2 separate regions of the Homo sapiens genome follow, and region 2 is linked to region 1. Evidence: promoter capture Hi-C in 16 types of primary human blood cells and fetal thymus (Javierre and others, 2016). All regions are on one chromosome and are shown on one strand. Each heading gives the region's core, a stretch centred on a gene start or on the middle of the fragment in contact. The rest is flanking DNA. Distances are from core to core; before and after follow the strand shown.

What was found. The method cuts DNA at HindIII sites, captures the fragments that hold promoters and counts their contacts. A CHiCAGO score of 5 or more calls a contact.
Region 2: a fragment that was not itself captured here is called in contact with the fragment with the promoter of CCNYL1 in region 1 in 2 of 17 cell types (erythroblasts and monocytes); the score reaches 5.7 in erythroblasts.

Annotation. Positions count from the first base shown.
Region 1 is chr2:207,710,012-207,713,285 of GRCh38, forward strand. It overlaps CCNYL1 (cyclin Y like 1), which reads left to right and starts at 1,629. Exons shown (of 10, transcript NM_001330218.2): 1 at 1,629-2,105. The coding sequence starts at 1,886. RefSeq lists enhancers at 821-1,020, 1,031-1,080, 1,433-2,429 and silencers at 1,301-1,750, 2,171-2,280, 2,293-2,452. The HindIII fragment of the contact is 3,390 bases long and covers 325-3,274 here.
Region 2 is chr2:206,796,087-206,799,245 of GRCh38, forward strand. It overlaps FASTKD2 (FAST kinase domains 2), which reads left to right. Exons shown (of 12, transcript NM_001136193.2): 12 at 1-103. Among named protein-coding and RNA genes, the nearest start is that of MIR3130-1, 14 kb to the left of the region's middle. The HindIII fragment of the contact is 2,607 bases long and covers 565-3,159 here.

The DNA of each region.
Region 1 (3,274 bases), core at 379-2,878:
GGACGCCACCATGCCTGGCTAATTTTTGTGTTTTTAGTAGAGACGGGGTTTCTCCATGTTGGTCAGGCTGGTCTTGAACTCCTGACCTCAAGCAATTCACCCGCCTCTGCCTCTCTAAGTGCTGGGATTACAGACGTGAGCCACCGCGCCCAACAAGAGCAAAACTCCGTCTCAAAAAAAAAAAAACAAAAAAAAAACAATCCCATTTTGCAGGTTTTATAGAAGAAATTGGGACGCAGAAGTTAAGTTACTTCCGCAAGCTTACATGACTGCTCAGGGTGAGGGTCCCTGATCATGATGATCAGAAAATAAAGGTAGAAATCAAGCTTAGGGAGGAAGTGACATTGTGTGTATATATATATATTTGTTTATTTATTTTTATTTTTATGTTTTATTTTTTTGAAACGGAGCCTAGGTCGCCCAGGCTGGAGTGCAATGGCGCGATCTCGGCTTACGGCAACCTCTGCCTCCCGGGTTCAAGTGATTCTCCTGCCTCAGCCTCCCGAGTAGCTGGGAATACGGGCGCGTGCCACCATGCCCGGCTAATTTTTTGTATTTTTAGTAGAGACGGGATTTCACCGTGTTAGCCAGGATGGTCTGGATCTCCTGACCTGGTGATCCGCCCGCCTCGGCCTCCCAAAGTGTTGGGATTACAGGCATGAGCCACCGCGCCCGGCCGGGATTGTTTTTAAGGGTTAAATAAATATACCACAGTTGGAACACTGTCTGGCACATAGTGCTTGCCAAATGGTAACTATTCATCTTCATGGAATCAAGACTGTGGTGCCCCACTGCATGGTTCTCAGTTTTGCGTGAGAAAATCGTGCTTTCTGTGCTGTTTTTAGTACAAGAAGAGAAACCTGGAAGTCCCTGCCTAGAGGAGAGAAACAGGCAAGAAAAGGGAGTTGGCGAGTCCCAGCATTTCAGAGTTGGCAGGGACGAGTTAGGTCCCTATTTTATGGATGAGGAAGTGGAAGGGTGACGTGTCCTCGAGTCTCATTCAAGACCCACAGCCACAACTCTTTATGGAGAGTAGGACCAGGGCCCCAGGGTTGCTATGATCACGTTGCAGGTGAAAACTAACGCTCATTGGAAGACAGGAGCGGAGCACTGAGTTACAAAAACAGTTAACAATTTGGGTGTAACCAAGTTTAGTGAGCAAACGAAAGCTGTCAGACTCGGAAGAAGAGTTGCTAATGGAGCGAACTCTTTACTAATAACGGCTTTCTACAGAGATCATTGACACAGCTTCCAGTTACAAATGCCCGTGCGCTTCCAGTAGGACCGGAAAGCTCCCAGCAGCCAGCGATGAATGAAAACCCGAGTCTGGGATAGCGGCGTGAGGGGCTGGGCAGCTGCCAGGCGGGGGCGGGGCAGCAGGTCACGTGCCTGGCTTCGAGGCGGGCGCCGGAGGGGGAACTCTGACCATGATTGGTTCCTCCTAACCAGGTGACCGCAGGTCGCGTTCCGGTTGGCAGGCACCGGCCAGGGCCAGCGGCCTTCAGTCGGTAGGCGGCGGCGGAAGGAGGAGGAGCTCCAGCCGCGCTCTCTCCCGGCAGTGGCTGTGCTTCACAGCGCTTGTTGGGTTCCCCACCCCTTTTAAATAAGCCGGGCTGGTCACCGCCCTCGCAGACGAGTCAGCTTAAGGGAGGCGGCGGCAGCGCGGCGGTGGGGGTGCGGCCGAGGCCCGAGCCCTGCCCGGGGCCGGGCCGCGGGGCGGGCGGGCGAACCGCGGGCGAGGCGGCGTCTGCTTGCGCGGTGCAGCCCCAGCGTAGCCCGGGGCTGCCGGTGCCGGCCGCGCCATTGTTGGGGGAGGGGGCGGCTGTTGAGGGCGGCGGAGTAGGGGGCGAGCGAAGGCGGTGGCAGAGAGGAGCGGAGGCTTCCCATGGGGAACACGCTGACCTGTTGCGTGTCCCCCAATGCCAGCCCCAAGCTGGGCCGGCGCGCGGGGTCGGCGGAGCTGTACTGCGCGTCCGACATCTACGAGGCGGTGTCCGGGGACGCGGTGGCGGTAGCGCCCGCTGTGGTGGAGCCTGCCGAGTTGGATTTCGGAGAGGGCGAGGGCCACCACCTGCAGCACATCAGCGACCGCGAGATGCCCGAAGGTAAGGAGGCGGCGGATGCCATCCGCCCTCGGGCTCACCTCTGCCCGCCTCCTCCCCCAGAGTCCCCCGGGAGGCATCCGCCGCCTCGGGCTCCTTCCTGCCGGTAGCCGGCCCCGGGACGAAGGCTGGTTCTGCCTCGCGTCCCCACCCCTTATTCTTGCCCTGCTGCGTCTGGCCAGTTTCTTTTCCTCCTCCTTACCGTAACGCCCAGTTCTTGCTCCCGCTTCCCATTCTCCCAAGCCGGCGTGGGACCCTCTAGTCCGCCGCCCTTCTTGTTTGTAGCTCTGTTCATTGTCTGGTGGGACTTTGCTAAGACTTTTGGGGTATATTGTTTTCCTTTTCTCAATGGAAACTCAAATACCTCAACTTCGGAGTACTCATCCCATTCCCTCCCTTAACCCATCCAGATGGTACCTAAGTGAAGGAACCAGGTAAGGGTCTGATTGTTCCTTCCTCCCATCCGTGAAGATAGCTGATGCCCGCGACAGTTTAGACCCAGATGTTTGAGGATTTCTTATCTAGACTCAAAATAGAGGTTGCCATAGGAGACACTATATGGTATTCCTAATAGGTTAAGTCGGCGTGAAAGAAGCTGCTTTATTCCTTCCAACTATAATTTGAACACAGAAAGAAAGAAAATGGGGGGAGGGGCGTAAAATGACTGTGAAGGGTGTGAGAGGTTATTACCAGGGGTGCAGACAAGTTGTTTTTTTGAGACGGAATCTCGTTTTGTCGCCCGCCCAGGCTGGAGTGCAGTGGCGCGATCTCGGCTCGCTGCAACCTCCGCCTCTCGGTTTCAAGCGATTCCTCTGCCTCAGCCTCCCGAGTAGCTGGGATTACAGGCGTGCGCCACCACGCCCAGCTAATTTTTGAATTTTTAGTAGAGACGGGGTTTCACCATGTTGGTCAGGCTGGTCTCTAACTCCAGAGTTCTTGATCCGCCCGCCTCGGCCTCCCAAAGTGCTGGGATTACAGGCGTGAGCCACCGCGCCCAGAGGTTGTTAACTCAAAGGAGTTTAGCCACGGAGTTCTGATTACTTTAAAATTCCCACGGTGGCAAATACATCTCCAGCCATTCTCCGGTGACTTAACAGACTTCAATACCTCCTTGTTCTAAAAGAGAGGTGGGGTGGTTCATGGTTAGAAGTTTCAAAAGAGACAAAGTATAA
Region 2 (3,159 bases), core at 618-3,117, 910 kb before region 1:
GGTTTCTGTTATCAGCAAGTAAATCCTGATTGATAAAGATACTACAATATATGCACATATATATGTTATAGAATCAATAAAAATTGGATACTTTGCTTTAAAAGTTTGTGAATTTTGCTTTTAAAGAATTTCCCTCAGGGCCGGGCACAGTGGCTCACACCTGTAATCCCAGCACTTTGGGAAGCCAAGGCAGAAGGATCGTTTGAGCCCAGGAGTTTGAGACCAGCCTGGCAACATGGCAAAACCCCACCTGTACAAAAAATAGAAAAATTAACTGGGTGTGGTGGCATGCACCTGTGGTCCCAACTACTCAGAAAGCTGGGGTGGGAGGATCGCCTGAGCCTAGGAGGTCGAAGCTGCAGTGGGCCAAGATTGTGCCACCGCACTCCAACCTGGATATCAGAGTGAAACCATGTCTCAAAAAAGAAAAAAGAATTTAAAAAGAATTTCACTCAGGGTTACAGACACTTAATGTTATTAAGACCCACTAGGAACACCTGTGTATACTGCTGGCTGGTTTTACATGTCACCCCACCCTGAGCAGGTTTCTCTAGGCAGCAATAAAGCTTCTGAGGCAGAGGAAGGGAGAAACCAACACACCTGCCTTTATTTTCCATTTGTTCTCCTTGCATCCAGTTTTCACCACACTTCCCCATGCTTTCACTACAGTTCTGCCAGGCTCCTCTCAGGCAATCTCTTTACACCAGGGGCCACATAATCCTAAAGAGGGAAGGGAAGATAGCATCAAACTTTCACCCAATTATTTCAGGCAATCCATCTCCTTCCCTCCTCCTTGCTTGCTTGCTTCCTTGCTTAAAAAATGCAGAATAGGCCGGGCACGGTGGCTTACACCTGTAATCCCAGCACTTTGGGAGGCCGAGGCGGGCGGATCACGAGGTCAGGAGATGAAGACCATCCTGGCTAACATGGTGAAACCCCGTCTCTACTAAAAATACAAAAAATTAGCTGGGCGTGGTGGCGGGTGCCTGTTGTCCCAGCTACTTGGGAGGCTGAGGCAGGAGAATGGTGTGAACCTGGGAGGTGGAGCTTGCAGTGAGTCGAGATCATGCCACTGCACTCTAGCCTGGACGACAGAGTGAGATTCTGTCTCAAAAAATAAATAAATAAGAAAGACATGAAATATATTAAATATATAAATGAGCTTTCACCTCGTCATAACTTTTAAGTTAAATTAGACAAAGAGCCAATGCTATTCTATTCGAGAACCTTTGAAGTGCTCAGATGCTGCTTACACTCATCAGAAAAATACTCCATCTTATTAAATGTGAGGCCTGAAGAAAACCTAGTGTTAAAGAAAATCAATTAAAGATAAATAAAACAGAGGGGCAAAGCCCCGTTCACCAGCTTGGGTTCAGATGAAGCTCCCCCGACAGCCACTACTCCTGTGCTGTTGCAGGCTATTGTAACGGGGGTTCCACGTCATCCAGGCCACAGGCCAAGCCTTGGATGCACCTGCTCTTTGCCCAGCTGCCCCAGGGCAGAGCTCTGCACAGATCACAGTGCCTTAAGACAGGATGATAACACCCCTCAGTGTTTTCCTTAGAGTGCTCCATGCACCACAGCCATTTTTCAAAGCATCCCCCAGGCCAGGGTTAAGGCAGAACAGGTTTTCCAGTCATAGCCTCCCACTTAGCTGAGTAACATTTCTTGAGTGATCTTGTAAATGAATAGTTTGAAAGAAAAACAGGCAACTAAGGCAGTGCGGTCACATTGTTTGAGAATACAGATGCAAAATTACTTGTGAATTTACTTGCTCATTTTTCCAAAGGATGTAATCTGTACACTTAGAAGTATTTCACTCACATGGGGCTCTTTGTAGCAACACAAACCGAACAAGCTATTTCTGAAACTCATATTTAACTGTGATTTGATATCATCTTGATTTTCTTAATTTTTTTTAAAATTGTGATAAAATACACAACATAATATTTACCATCTTAACCATTTTTAAATGTACAGTTCAGTGGCAGTGAGTACATTCACATTGTTATATAACAATCACTACCCTCCAGCTCCAGAATCTTTTCAACTTGCAAAACGGAAATACTGACACATTAAACAGTAACTCCCATTTCCCCTTTCCCCCAGTGCCTGGCAACCACCATTTACTTTCTGTCTCTATGAATTTTACTACTCTAGACACCTTATAGAGTGGAATTGCTCAGTATTATTCTTTACTGACTGGCTTCTTTCACTTAGCGTAGTGTTTTCTGGCTCATCCGTGTCATGGCATGTGGCAGTATTTCTTTCGCCCGGGCACTTTGGGAGGCTAAGATGGAGAGGCTGAGAGTTGAAGACCAGCCTGGGTAACATTGCAAGACCCCCATCTCTACAAGAAAATTAAAAAGGCTTGAGCCCAGGAGATTGAGCCTGCAGTGAGCCATGATCATGCCCCTGCACTCCAGCCTGGGGAAAGAATGATACCCTGTCTCAAAGAAAAAAAAAAGAATTTCCTTCCTTTTAAAAAGATGGAATTATATTCTATTGTATGTATATACCACATTTTGTTTATCTGCAGATGGGCCCTTGGATTGTTTCTACCTTTTGTATCAGTGTGTGTGTGTGTGTGTGTGTGTGTGTGTGTGTGTGTGTGTGTGTGTGTATTTCTAGAAACTTGTTATTCTCCTGAGTGTTAAACTGTTTTAAATGTTTGGTTTTTCATTTCTAGAACATTTTCCTATCCTAAAATTTACCTATCTGGCTATCTATCATCTATCACTTTTCCTAAGGATCTTTAGTTGTTTACTTTTTAATGAAGTATAATATACGTTATGATAGTGTATTTTATGTATCCTCATATCCTTTCACTGTGGATTTAATTTTTAGAAATAACAAAAAGTCACATAGGGCAAATTCATTAAGCTGAGTGGGTGATTAAGTTAACAATAGTAATGACCATGTATTAAGTGCCTACTATGTGCCAGGCACTGTGCTAGCATTTCACACCCATTATATCATTCAGTCTTCACACCCCTGTTTGGTGGTTATTAATGATTACTAATATTCATTTTATAGATGAATAAACTGATACTCAAGGCCTTAATTGCCTTTCCTAGGGGTGCACAACTAGAAAAAAGGCAGAGCCAGATCTGCACCCAAGTCCTTCTGACCCCAGAGCTCATGCTTGTATCATCGCAC